5 separate regions of the Homo sapiens genome follow, and all the other regions are linked to region 1. Evidence: promoter capture Hi-C in 16 types of primary human blood cells and fetal thymus (Javierre and others, 2016). All regions are on one chromosome and are shown on one strand. Each heading gives the region's core, a stretch centred on a gene start or on the middle of the fragment in contact. The rest is flanking DNA. Distances are from core to core; before and after follow the strand shown.

Region 1 (2,700 bases), core at 76-2,575:
CGTGCTTCCCGCTGGTGCGGCTGTAGAGTTGGTAGGTCCGGATGAGGCGGCGGCTGAGCTGATCCGTCACCAGGCTCTGCTCCCTCACATGCTGTGTAAAATTAGGTGAGGACTGAACAGTTACCTTTAGGAAATTGAAAAATACACAATACACCATTATAATGCTACTCCGCCCAGGGGCCCGAGTGGCCCCATCACCCTGCGTCCCCCTCACTGCCCCAAGCCGCCAGCAGGTGCTGGGGGTTCCCCCAACATGCCAGCCCAGGCCACCATCCCCCACCCACGCAAGTCGGGCAGACCCAGCCCAGGATGAACGAGCCCCAGGGAGAAGCTGGACCCACCTGTTGGGAGACACCCTGGGGCTCCCGGCCAGCCCGGAACAGGGAAGCGAGCTCCCTGCCCAGCGCAGGGCCCCTGCCCGGGCCTTCCTAGAGGAGCAGGGCGCTTTTAAGTAGGGAGGCAGCCCTCCCCGACCCCTGACATTTATAAAGACAAATTTACGGAGCAAATGTTGAGAGTGCAGGGAACCTGGGCACCCGATCATTGGGCCAAATCGGCCACAAGCCTCCCCCGAGGGGCGCTGAGAGGGTCTCTGCTGCAGTCACCCGGCTTCCCCTGGCATCGAACATCCATCCCCTGGCCGCGGCTGCCCCCTTCCTCGGCGGCTGGGTGTTCCCTATGCCCCCAGCCGGCGAGGATGCATGGGGGACAGTGCTGGGCTCCGAGACCTTCGTTTCTATCCTGGCCACTCACTCGCTGTGTGACCTCAGGAGGGGTGCTACCTCTCTGTGCCTCAGCTCCCTCCTCGGGGTGGCTCGGGGCTGGGTTTCTAAGGTGCCCTCAGCCCTCCCGCGCCGGCCGCAGAGTCAGTCCCGGTGCCCCCGACCGGCGCTGCCCACCCGGGTCTCACACCGGCGCGCCCGGCCCCCGCCTCCGCGCACCCCTCCTCACCTGGGCTTGGAGGCAGAGGACCAGCAAGTGCAACAGCCTGTGGGAGACAAAAGCGGGCGGGAGAGAGAGGCGCGGGTGAGGCGAGGGGCGCGGGGGGCGGGTGGCGGGGCAGGGCGGCGCGGTACTCACAGGCAGCTCAGCGCGGAGCGGGGGCTGCCCATGGCGCGCGGCCCCGGGGCACCGAGAGCCCGGCGGGTCACGCCGTCCCGCGGGCCGCCGCGGGAGGACGCGCTGAGCAGGGCGCGAGCGGAGAGGGTGCGGGTGCGGGAGGCCGGCGGCGATCACGACGCGGCTCCGCGGGTCCCGTGGAACGTCGTGCTCGCCGCGCCGCACCGAATCGCTGTGCGCCGCTGCCGGAGCCGGTGGCCGCTGGCTGCTCGGGAGCCGGAGCGGGCGGGAGGGTCACGGGCTGGCGGGGTGGGTGGGGAGGTGGGAGGGCGGGGAGGGGTGGGGGCGGGGGGCGCCGCACCGGGCGCGAGGGGGGAGCGCGGGGCGGGCGGCGGGAGCCCGCAGCCCCCGGCTGGGAACTGGGGCCTGGATGCAGCCCGGGGCGGGGGCGGGGCGGCCGGGGAGGGGCGGCCGACGGGTTCGGGATTGAGGGTCTGGGCTAGGGGAGGGGTCTGGGGACCCGCGGGAGGGGCGGGGGCGGCCGGTCTGGGCGCCTCCCCCTATCCCCGGCCTGTCCCCTCGCGCGCTCCCCGGTCCCGGACGCGCGGGGATGGGGGCGCCTAGGGCTGCAAACTCTGCGGGCCGGGAGACCCCGAGCCTGGGCTTCCCCGACCGCCTGGAGCGCCCGAGTCTGGCGGGTCTGGGTCTCCGCCTCCGGGCCCAGCCGCTTCCGCCGCCGGCTACGCAGTGGTCTCCGAGCCACCTACTGTGTGTCCCGCCGGGCCCCTGGGAGCGGCCGCTAACCATGCAGCGAATGGCTGCGCACCCGGCCCTCGCGCAGTGCGTGCCGGTGCCACCCGGACCCCGCTCCCCTGTTTCGGCCGCGTGCCCCGTCCTGTCGGTCTCTCCAGTCTCCTTCACTCTCCCGAGGAGGCCCTGGGAGCCAGAAATGCCTCCCCCTCCCCCCATCCCATTATCACTATCACCCCTTCCCCTGTGCCCCTCACCACACACACACACACACACACACACACACACACACACACTAGCCTGAAGCTTGAGGAGCACCCCGAGCCACCTGTGTGGAAGAGAGAGTCCGGAGGTCCCTGGCAGGACCCACTGTCCCCGTACCTCAGCAGGCAGCAGGGGCAAAAAAACTCTCAGTAGCTTTTACTGGGGGAAGGGACTTCCATCCAGGCCACCCAGCCCTTTCCCCCTCAAAGCCCCACTCGTTTTTCATTTCACAGGTATTTACACACCTACTGTATTCTAGGCAGGGGCTGGTCAGCTGGGCTTGGGGCATAGGAGAAGGTAGGCACTTGTCTAAGCCTTTCCTAGCCCCCCACCTTGTGGCTTCCCCCCTGAGGTTTCTGGAAACCCTGAGCCCCCATGCTGCTTCTGTGGGAGCAGCCTGGGTGGACAGAGATGCTCTGGGACAGGTGCCTTGTGAGGAGCAGGTGATGCCCTACCAGACTGCTGTCTTCACTTACAACCTCCCCTTCCCCAGTGACCCTCCATTCCCCTGGGGGTAGGGCTGGAGGGTTTGGTGTGGTCCCAGGAAGCCATTAGGCCAAAATTAGCGGCAGCCCTAGTCCAGCAGCACAGCCAGGCCCTGCCTCCCTCCCTGCTCTGTGTCCCACC
Region 2 (2,700 bases), core at 96-2,595, 640 kb before region 1:
CCATGCCTAGAACAGTGCCTGACACATAGTGAGTACAGTACTCAATAAATATTATTGAATAAAGAGATACATTCTTTGTTATTCACCCAAGATGACCATATTTTGTTGTTTGGGGCTGTATTCTTCAGGAGAGAACAGAAATGAATAAGCCACTCTCTGCCTCCAAGAAGATCTCTTCAAGTGGAGGTGACAGACATGCCCAAAGCAAATAGATTGCAATAAGACTTGATGGGAGAGAATGTGAGTCTTCACATCCTAGCATCTTTCCAGATAGAGACAGGGCCTACCCAAAAGTCTAATCTGAAACTGAACTGAAATAGAACAGAAATAGATCCCAAGTGATGGAACCTGTGCCTTTCCCAAAGCTTGGCTTCTAAAAGGTAGCAAACATTTTCTACTGGAGAGGGGAAAGACAGGAAGAAGAAAAAGGGAGTTTCCTCCTTTTCTCTTGGGCTCTCAGCCAGACAGCCACTGGCAAAACGTTGGAAAGGCCTAAATTTGTCCTGGATGCACTTCCCTGATCCTAGTCCCACCAATCCCAGCCCCCACGGCCTTAAGCCCCTATGGCTCCCTCCCAAGATTCCAAACGTAAGAAAAGAACACACACCACAGTCCAAAGGCTTCTTGTCTGGAATAGCCAACCCTGGGGTAATTGTTAGGTGGAATGCAATCTGGTTGAATTCATTCAAACACTGTAGGAATTGCCTCTTTCGAACCCTGTAGGATTTTACTTCTTGACGCATCTGTTTATTTAAAACCAAAGGGGTATGTTGAGGCATGGGCACCCTGGCAGCAGACCCCAAACCAACCCTCTTGACTTGTGCCTGCCTTTCAGGATATGTTCCCTTCCTGAATTTGTCTAAGAAGGCTGAGTTGGGGGGTGGTTGCTGATTTTTATAACATATAGCCAGTTGTTCATAGGCCTGTGTTTTAAAGAAGGGCAAGCCTGAACTCACCGTCCTGCCTCAGGGCCTGGGCTCCATACCTGGGGAGTAGACAGTCTTCTACTTTCTAAAAAGCTGGACTTGAAATTTGGAGTAAATCTCCTGGTTGAGTGACAGGTGTTTCGCAGCTGAGCCCTTGAGGAGATTCTCCAGTTGGGCAGAGACATCCCTTCCTCAGACGCCTTGTGGGCTGGACTCCTTTGGCCCAGTTCAAAGTGAGGGGAGGGCTCCCAACAGGCCGGGAAGACAGTTGACTTCACCCTCCTTGGGTTTGTCTGTCTGTCCGTCTCTGGGAATGGTCGCTTCCTGTTTTCCCTTTTCCTTTTAAGCCTCGCCTTGTTCCCCTCTTCTCTCTCTTCATGAACTACTCCGAGTCTTGGTCTCCGTCCCTCTATCTCTGGCTCCTGCATCTGTCTCGGCTTCTGGCCTTCCTCTCCCCCTCCCCTCCCCTCCCTCGCGCTGTCATTCACCCCGCTCCTCTCCGCGCACAGCCAATGGAGAGACCCAGTCGAAACCGCGAAGCTCTCTTGCACCGGGCTTTTTCGCCTGGTGATTGATGTCCCAGAGTCAACAGCGAGCGAGCAGCCGGAGCGGGGAAGCAGAAGCCAGAGAGGGGAAGAATACGGCGCCCCCTCTCTCCCTCCCCTCCCCCTTCTACTTTAGCCTTTCTGCGCACTTCGCTTCCAAGTCTCCGCGCAGCCAGGAGCCGCTGTTGCCTCCCAGCCCCTGCTAGCTGCCCCCCGAGCCGAGCGCAGCGAGCGCCGCCGCCCGGGCCCCCCGGTGGGGCCAGGGCCAGCATGGAGCACCTGGGTCCGCACCACCTCCACCCGGGTCACGCAGAGCCCATTAGCTTCGGCATCGACCAGATCCTCAACAGCCCGGACCAGGGTGGCTGCATGGGACCCGCCTCGCGCCTCCAGGACGGAGAATACGGCCTTGGCTGCTTGGTCGGAGGCGCCTACACTTACGGCGGCGGGGGCTCCGCGGCCGCGACGGGGGCTGGAGGAGCGGGGGCCTATGGTACTGGAGGTCCCGGCGGCCCCGGAGGCCCGGCAGGCGGCGGCGGCGCCTGCAGCATGGGTCCTCTGACCGGCTCCTACAACGTGAACATGGCCTTGGCAGGCGGCCCCGGTCCTGGCGGCGGCGGCGGCAGCAGCGGCGGTGCCGGGGCACTCAGCGCTGCGGGGGTAATCCGGGTGCCGGCACACAGGCCGCTCGCCGGAGCCGTGGCCCACCCCCAGCCCCTGGCCACCGGCTTGCCCACCGTGCCCTCTGTGCCTGCCATGCCGGGCGTCAACAACCTCACTGGCCTCACCTTCCCCTGGATGGAGAGTAACCGCAGATACACAAAGGACAGGTTCACAGGTGAGTCCGGCCCGCGCGCTCCCCGCCTGGCCGCGGCCCGGGCTCCGTGCTACCCCTGCCCCGCCGGGTGGCTCCCCAAAGCCGGTTCTGCGCTCCAGGTCGCCCAGCTCTTCTTGGTGCTTCCCCCAAGTTGAGCCGCCCGCCCGATTCTATAACGCAGACTCGCCATGCTTGAAGAGTTCTCTCAGCCTGGACCCCTCTCTGTCTCCCGAAGGACCCCTGCTCGGAGGAGCTCTCCCTGGTCCCCTCTCCGGATCCACTAGCCGGGTCAGGCAGAGAGAAGGAGGCCATAGATTCAGGACCACCTTCTGCAGCTACTCTTGGCCTGGGAATCTTAGAGAAAGGGGTGCAACGTGAACAGTTTCTTCCGTCCTGGCTGCTGTTCTAGGAC
Region 3 (2,700 bases), core at 36-2,535, 590 kb before region 1:
CCATCCAATGAAAGCGTCTACTCAGACCAAGAGGTATTTTAGTTTCCTGACTCGAAGCAGGTGAGTAAAGTCAATTTGCCAGTCCTGGGCGGGGGCAAATCCCCGAGCTTGATGTGGAGGGAAGGGAGGGGGCCTGAACAATCCCTGAGGAGTAGTAGAATAGCAGATGGAACACTGAGAAGTGATTTCCTTGAGGATAGATTTCCACGATGGAAAGAAAATGAGAGGTTCTAAGAGATAGGCTAGCGGTTTGTAACCTACATGGAAGAGGCTATGAAATGACGACAGAATAGAATGGGCCTGTGAGGCTGGAAGGAGATATTTTCCTTGGTCCAAGAACCATTTGCCTTGTGTGGGAAGATATTGATAGGTGGAAGTTTCAGTGGGAGAGTAGGTGGGAGTGACCAATGAGAAGGAGAAAAACTGGCCATGAGGGACAGAAGTTGGAACGCCAGCAGCTTCTTTAGCTACCTTGTCAGCATAAGCATTGCCCTGAGAGATGGGATCTGACGCCTTTTGATGACCCTTGGAGTGAATGACTCCAGCTTCCTTTGGAAGTAAAGCGGCCTAGAGAAGAGTTTTTATTAAAGAGGCATTAATGATGGAGAACCCTTGCATAGTGAGGAAACCTCTTTCAACACATATGACAGCATGGTGGTGCAAGATATGGGAGGCATATTTAGAGTCAATATAAATATTGATGCATAGTCCTTTTGCAAGAGTGAAGGCCCAAGTTAAGGAAATGAGTTCAGCTTGCTGAGAGGTAGTGGAGGTGGGCAGAGAAGTAGCCTCAATGAGATATGGAATATACTATAGCATAGCCTGCCTTTGCTGGTGAGTGGCAATCAGGCCTGGTGGAACTGCCATCAATAAACCAAATGTGATTAGGGTGAGGAACAGGAAAGAATGAAATATGCAGAAATGGAGTGAATGTCAGGGGGATCAGAGAGATACAGTCATGGGGGTAAGGTGTGGTATCTGGAATAATGTGGGGGCCAGCCTAAAACAGTAAGGTCAAATTGTTTGGACAGAAAGGCTACAGGGTGTGGTCCTGGCTCTTGTGTAAGAATTCCAACTGCACAGCCCTGCACTTCAGCTGTGTGTAATGAAAAAGGGTTGGGATGAGTTAGGGAGAGCTAGTATGGGAGCAGCTGCTAGGGCTGTTTTTAAGGAATGTAAAGAGGAGTGGGGAAAGAATTTAGGATCTATGGGGTCAACTAGGTTTCCTTTTGTGAGTTTATATAATGGTTTAATCAGATGGCAAAACAAGGTATCCAAAGGCGAAAGTATCCGACCACGACCAGGAAGGAAAGGAGTTGTTGTTTTGTAGAAGGGGTTGGGGTTTGAGAGACCAGCCAGACATGATTGGCAGGGAGAGCATGCGTGTTTTCATGAAGAATTATGCTGAGGTAGGTAATGGATGGGGAAGAAATTTGAGCTTTGGAGGGGGATAACTGATGTCCTTTGGAGAATAAATGTTGAAGGAGCAGGAGGGTATCTTGTTGAGAAGACTCAAAGGAGGGACTACAGAGTAGAAAGTCATCAATGTATTGAATAAGGTGGGAAGCAGAGAGGTGGAAAGAAAGTAAATCATGAGAAAGGGCTTGGCTGAAGTAATGAGGGCTGTCCCAGAAGCCTTGTGGCAGTAAAGCCCAGGTAAGTTGCTGGGACTGATGGGTTTCAGGGTCAGTCCAGGTAAAAGCAAAGAGGGGCTGGGACAAGGGGTGCACGGGAATCATGAAAAAAGTGTCTTTAAGATCAAGAATGGAATAGTGAGTTGTGGAGGGAGGTATTGAGGACAAAAGAGTGTACAGGTTGGGCACCACAGGGTGGATAGGCAAAACAATTTGGTTAATAAGGCACAGATCCTGAACCAACCTGTAAGACTTGTCCGGTTTTTGGACAGGTAAGATGGGGGAATTGTAAGGAGAGTTTGTAGGCTTTAGTAGCCCATGCTGTAGCAGGCGAGTGATAACAGGCTTCAATCCCCTTAAAGCCTGTTGTGGGATGGGATACTGGTGTTGAGCAGGGTAAGGGTGATTAGGTTTTAATGGGATAGTAATGGGCATGTGATCAGTTGCCAGGACGGGAGTAGAGGTGTCCCCATACCTGTGGGTTAAGGTGGCAGGATACAAGAGAAAGACATGAAGGAGGCTTTGGGTTGTGAAGAAGGGCAGCAATGAAATGTGGCTGTAGTCCAGGAATAGTCAGGGAAGCAGATAATTTGGTTAAGATGTCTCGGCCTAATAAGGGAACTGGGCAGGTGGGGATAACTAAAAAGGAGTGTTTAAAAGAATGTTGTCTGGCCGGCTGCTGTGGCTCACGCCTGTAATCCCAACACTTTGGGAGGCCGAGGCAGTTGGATCACGAGGTCAGGAGATGGAGACCATCCTGGCTAACACGGTGAAACCCCGTCTCTACTAAAAATACAAAAAAAAAAAAAAAAATAGGCATGGTGGTGGGCGCCTGTAGTCCCAGCTACTCGGGAGGCTGAGGCAGGAGAATGGCATGAGCCTAGGAGGCGGAGCTTGCAGTGAGCCAAGACCCCGCCACTGCACTCCAACCTGGGCAACAGAGCGAGACTCCGTCTCAAAAAAAAAAAAAAAAAAGAATGTTGTCCAAGTTGGCACTAGAGTTGGAGAGTTTTAAGAGGTTTAGCAGCCTGGCCGTCAATACCCACAGCAGTTATGGAGGCAAGGA
Region 4 (2,700 bases), core at 48-2,547, 630 kb before region 1:
GAGTTCTCTTGCCCAGCTCGCAGCCTCCCTGAAGGATCGGGGCAAGGGCAAGGCCACGAGAGCTCAGGTGCTGTTAATTTCCGTTGAGGAGAAGCACCCTGGGGTCCCTGTCACTTGGAAATTCCCTGTGGCAGTGCTGTAAGCTTCATCACAGTCGGCCCTGCAACTCCCTCTGCACATCTTTGGAATCTCCAGGAGTTATGGGGCGGGGCGAGGAGCTAACCCAGCCCTGGCTCCTCCTCCCCAGGGAGCCGAAACTTCTATACTTCTCTGACTTTATGGTCCTTGGAGGCAGGGTAGGGGTTCAGGGGACTGATTCCTTTGGATTTCTGGGCGACTGGTCTGGCAAGTCAATAACCACCCCAGTTGTCCTGACAAACGGGTCTGCTTTGTGATCAGAGTCCATAAAATGGGCCTGTAGGAAACAGTGTCCCCTCCAACCAATACGGAGCCAGAAGCCCTCTCCTCTGTATAAGGTTTAGAGAGTGCTTCTCCACCCTGGACTGCAGGGAATACTCTCCTCCCTTGAGTCTTTGATTTTCTGCAGTCCCTCAGTGTGTGGAGTCTGAGTCCAGCTAACCCGAGAAGAAAAATGCACTGATTCCAGGGATATTCGGTAGTTTACAGGATCAATAGGAAGGCTGAGGAATTAAGGAACATCAGTTTCAGGAAACACAGGAATGCTTCGTTAAGGCACTGCTGCTAGCACCACATGCTGCTAGACTCCGGCATGAACATCACTGAGAGTAATTTCCCAACTTTTCCTCCATCTTCACTTCACTCCCTCAAGATTCAAAACTCATGGAGTATCATTTAACGACACTAAGAGTAGGACATGTGTCCAGGCACTAGTTGTCAGAGATGGGAGGGAAGAGCATAGTCCCTTAGACTTCCATATTAAAAGCTAAAACTGTTCCACCAATATTTACCCTGTTTGAGGACAGTCTCCCTATCAGGAAGTGTTCAGATGCTAGGTTAAAAAAGGGTGGGGGGACCCACTCGAGGGGACCCACCCCTTTGGCTGCCCAATATTCACATATGCCTTTCTTCCTAAATTTACAGGCTTTTCCTCCACAAAATGCTCCCACCTAACATGTTACTGTCACTCATGACAGAAAATATATTCAACTTTCCTGACAATCCAAAGCCTCATAGCTCTAAGTTCAATACCTTTGTTCTCTTCCTTCTCTAGTTCTGTTGGAATCTGGTCTCAATATTGTGCAACTTGTGGATTAGACTAAATTGTAAAGCTAATAATCATCACACATAATAATATAGTAGTGGCCAGGCATGGTGGCTCATGCTTGTAATCCCAGCACTTTGGGAGGCTGAGGCAGGCGGATCATTTGAGGACAGGAGTTCGAGACCAGCCTGGTGAACATGGTGAAATCCTGTCTCTACTTAAAATAAAAAAAAAAAATTAACCGAATGTGGTGGCAGTTGCCTGTAATCCCAGCTACTCGGGAGGCTGAGGCAGGAGAATTGCTTGAACCCAGGAGGCGGAGGTTGCAGTGAGCTGAGATCATGCCATTGCAATCCAGCCTGGGCAACAAGAGTGAAACTCCATCTCAAAAAAAAAATAGTAATAATAATAATAATAATAATACAATTACAAGGGAATAAGAATGGAAGAAAATGCATGAAGTTAAAATATAGACTGTCTAATATGACAACAGGTCAGGACGTAAAAACCATTGTCTTTTTTTTTGCATATTTCGTATTCATGACATTCCTCCTCCCTTTTCCATTCTGTTTCTTTTGCCTTCAGGCAGCACCTGGGCTGGTTTGGGTTCTTTATCCTGGAGAGAGCCAAGCCTTTGTTCCTGAGGGATCTGAGCCCTTGATGGTCCTGCCTAGAAAGGGCTGTCGTGGTCTTCCATTAACTTTTACCCCTGGACATAACAGCACTACAAGGGACCCCAAGGGAGCCCTGTGATTCCATGAATACTCCTTTTTGCCCCATTGTATAGGAAAACATTCTACTTGAACTTGCTACCGCTCTAGCCAATTCCATAGTCTCCTTTAACCTTGCTCATCCATTGACAGGAGCAACCAGAAGTGACCAGGTAAGAATTTATGCTCCCATTTCAGTGAAAACATTGTTTCTCTTGGTGGGAACTTTCTTCTCTTGGGGACTCTAACTCTAATATAGTAGAAACAAGAGTCACAGAAAGTGAGGGTGTCACTGGGGACTTGTAGAAGGTATTGCCCTCTCTTTTTGGGGTCATACAATCAGGCTATGGGGGAAATAGCAGCAAATATTAAGTACCAGCTCATAGCATATGTTTCATCCTGAAGTACTGCACCACACTACCGTAAAGGACAAACCAGGCTGTTCTAATAACACAGAATACAGTGGCTCAAACAAGATATAAATTATTTTTTCTCTTGCATCTAGGAAAGACAGATAGCTCTGCTCTGTGAAGGCATCGGGAGGCCCAGGCTAGTGAGGAAGCTTTGCCATTCTCCGCAGCCACCTTCCAAACTTGTGTCAATCCTTGACAGAGGAAGGAAAGGGGGCAGCAACTCCAAGGCAAGCTCTTTAAGAAGATGACTGCAAAGTTGTGCATATTTCACTTACATTCCTTTGAGAAGAGCTAGCTGCAAGGGAGGCTGGGAAATGTAGGCTCTAGGTGAATCTAGTGGATATTAGCCCATTGTTAAAACTGCAAAATGTATTCTTGTCAACAGCAATGTTGT
Region 5 (2,700 bases), core at 63-2,562, 540 kb before region 1:
TCTCAGGGATCTTGAGAGGCCGAAGATGCCTTGAAGGTGGACAGGATTTTTTAAACAGGAAAGAAAAAATCGAGAATTTGTAAGGTCAGGATCAATGAGGGCCAGAGAGAAATAGAGAGGCTGCAGGAGTGGTTTCAGGCAACACAGAGCGAGCTGGACCCCAGGCGAGCAGACAGGGTGCAACTCCAGTTTGGGCAGAACCCAGGAGGTTTCGGCATGCCTGGGCCTCACCCCAGCCCACGAAGACAGCTGAACCTAGTCAGGATCTCGGCCTGTCACAGTTGGCCCTCTCATAATCCTCCCTCTAGGTAGGAAAATAGTCTTTTTAAGTCCAGTTTTACAGCTAGCAAACTGAGGCTCACAAAGATCACGTGGCTTGTTTGAGGTGAACAAACTAGGAAGTAGTGTAGCTGGTCACACTGTCTTCCAGACTCCATGCCCCTCCCCGCCCCCATTCTCCAGGGTTTTTCTGTAAACCTTACATTCTGCCTTCTACACACGCGCGCGCGCACACACACACACACACACACACACACACACATCCCTACCTGGAGATGCCCATGGGAAGGAGAAACACCCTCATTACTTTCTATATCCAGGCCCACTGCTCAGTGTCTTTCAGAGCCCACCACCTGGCTTCTTATAGGGCCCAGATCTGGGCACACCATTCTTACTTAGGCTGCTTGTACCTGTGCTGTAGGGGAGAGGGAGTTGGCTGTAACCAGGCAAAGCCAGGCAGAAGGAGTCATGCAGGACAGGCTTGAAGTGGGCAGGTGAGTCTCCCTGGCTAGAATCCATACTCTCCTAGGAATCTCAGTCTTCCTCTGCCCCCATCACCCCATCCCTGGGAGTGGGGGCTGCACAAGCTCAACACACATCCTGTAGGCTGCTGGTCAGAGCTCCTTTGGAGACTTAAGTTACTTGAGAAATCTGACAGTTCCCCCCTGGGGCTGGCTGGGGAGGAGGCACAGACTGTGTGGCAGGGCTAGGACTAGGGTGAGGCATGTGAGGTGCCATATTTAAGGAAGGCATCTGCTCTCAGCTCTGTGTGTGATCCCTTAGGTTTTGTGCCGTGGGCATCTCACTCGCCTCACCCTAGTCCCAGCTCTACTGTGTGGTCTGGGAGTTAGAATCAAGTCCAGTGAACTGCTGAGAGGGGACAGGGAGGCTGATTTCAGCTCATCCTTGAGAATGGCTTTCTGAAGGATCAAAGTGGAAACAATGGAATGAGCTTCCCCCAACACATGGAGTATGCAAGCAGGGCTTAGCGCTTGCTAAGAAGGAAAATAATCACGGTCTTATTGTCATCACCAATATTGTCCTCATTTGACCATCACTTTGTGTCAAGTAAAAGCTGTCATCACATTGTTTCATTTAATGTATATAAATATGTTTTAGCTGAATATGGGATATCAGAGTCTCTGACTTTGGGGTCCTTTCCAGCTCCAAGAGTCCATTGTTGCATAAGACAAAGAGCACTTCTGTTGATTTTTGTTGGTTTGATGCATTGTCATTATTTGTGGACTTATAGTCTTATACTAATGGATAAGACTTTGAGGGCAGGGACTGTGTCTAATCACATTTTTTTAAATGATTCCCTCTCCTGTTCCATGCTGACCACGGGCCTGGGGCACATAGAAGCTGTTCAATAAATGTGTATCAAACAAACACATGAGTAAACCAGTGTCTAAAAGCTGTCTGCCTACCTGGCCATCTGCTTTCCGGGCTGTGACCGACAGAGCCACTAGGGTGGCCACTGGGGGAACAAGAACCACCTCTGCAGTCATTATCCCCCTTATTCTACAGCTGAGCTGAGTTCAAGTGGGCATGTCTAGAGCCTCCCCTGACATCACATGCCTAGCCCTTTGCTAGTTTGTGGATAAGACAAGGGCCAGCCCAGGTTCTGCCTGTGCAGAAGGATCTCAAGACTCATACTGGACAAATCTCTTAAGAAACCATTCAGATGGTGAGGGAAGCCTCTGCAGATCAGAGCAGAGAAGGGCCTATAGCCAGAGAAGCCTGGCTGGCAAAGCTGAGACTAGAGCTAGTCCTTGAAGCATGAGAAGAATTGAGTGGTTGGAGGGAAGAAATAGACAATTCTTGCCGGGTGTGGTGGCTCACATCTGTAATCCCAGCACTTTGGGAGGCCAAGGTTTACTTAAGGCCAGGAGTTTGAGACTGGTCTGGCCAACATGGTGAAACCCCGTCTCTACTAAAGATACAAAAATTAGCTGGGTGTGGTGGCACATGCCTGTAATCCCAGCTACTTGGGAGGCCGAGGCAAGAGAATCACTTGAACCAGGGAGGCAGAGGTTGCAGTGAGCCGAGATCGCACCACTGCACTCCAGCCTAGGCAACAGAGTGAGACTCCATCTCAAAAAAAAAAAAAAAAAAAGAAGAAGAAGAAAAGAAATAGACCATCCTAGGTTGGATGGGGAGCAAGAGCAACGGGACAGAGGCAGGAATGGCCACAATCATTTTGGGGAGCAGGCAGGCTAGCCTGGCTAGAGTACCAGAAGAAGACAAGTAGGAAAAGGCATTTGTGGAATGCCTTGAATCTCCAGGCCCAGACCCAGAGAACAGAAAATGGGGTTCAGAAATCAGAATCCACATCCTAGAGCCTAGAAACCAAAGCCTAGAACTCAGAAAGCAGGGGCAAAGTTCAGGACCCAGTCTTGTCTAGGGCAGTCCCATTAGCTG

Evidence for each region. Contacts are between HindIII fragments. The CHiCAGO score rates a contact against its expected background, and 5 or more counts as called.
Region 2: the fragment with the promoter of TLX1NB here is called in contact with the fragment with the promoter of FGF8 in region 1 in 1 of 17 cell types (endothelial precursors); the score reaches 6.0 in endothelial precursors.
Region 3: a fragment that was not itself captured here is called in contact with the fragment with the promoter of FGF8 in region 1 in 1 of 17 cell types (endothelial precursors); the score reaches 6.2 in endothelial precursors.
Region 4: a contact is called between a fragment that was not itself captured here and the fragment with the promoter of FGF8 in region 1, in 3 of 17 cell types (endothelial precursors, erythroblasts and M2 macrophages). The highest score is 7.4, in endothelial precursors.
Region 5: a fragment that was not itself captured here is called in contact with the fragment with the promoter of FGF8 in region 1 in 4 of 17 cell types (endothelial precursors, M0 macrophages, M1 macrophages and 1 more); the score reaches 8.4 in endothelial precursors.

What each region holds. Positions count from the first base shown.
Region 1 is chr10:101,774,789-101,777,488 of GRCh38, forward strand. It overlaps FGF8 (fibroblast growth factor 8), which reads right to left and starts at 1,326. Exons shown (of 6, transcript NM_033163.5): 1 at 1,081-1,326; 2 at 952-988; 3 at 342-428; 4 at 1-124. The coding sequence starts at 1,112. RefSeq lists enhancers at 1-231, 232-970, 1,407-2,225 and a promoter at 1,131-2,700. The HindIII fragment of the contact is 3,344 bases long and covers 1-2,113 here.
Region 2 is chr10:101,129,801-101,132,500 of GRCh38, forward strand. TLX1NB (TLX1 neighbor) reads right to left here and starts at 1,346. Exons shown (of 3, transcript NR_130723.1): 1 at 986-1,346. TLX1 (T cell leukemia homeobox 1) reads left to right here and starts at 1,500. Exons shown (of 3, transcript NM_005521.4): 1 at 1,500-2,309. The coding sequence starts at 1,742. The HindIII fragment of the contact is 16,958 bases long and covers 364-2,700 here.
Region 3 is chr10:101,186,105-101,188,804 of GRCh38, forward strand. All of the region lies in intron 3 of LINC01514 (long intergenic non-protein coding RNA 1514), which reads left to right. Among named protein-coding and RNA genes, the nearest start is that of LINC01514, 11 kb to the left of the region's middle. The HindIII fragment of the contact is 3,701 bases long and covers 1-2,700 here.
Region 4 is chr10:101,146,981-101,149,680 of GRCh38, forward strand. No RefSeq gene overlaps it. Among named protein-coding and RNA genes, the nearest start is that of TLX1, 17 kb to the left of the region's middle. The HindIII fragment of the contact is 2,312 bases long and covers 142-2,453 here.
Region 5 is chr10:101,239,194-101,241,893 of GRCh38, forward strand. No RefSeq gene overlaps it. Among named protein-coding and RNA genes, the nearest start is that of LBX1-AS1, 11 kb to the left of the region's middle. The HindIII fragment of the contact is 4,597 bases long and covers 1-2,700 here.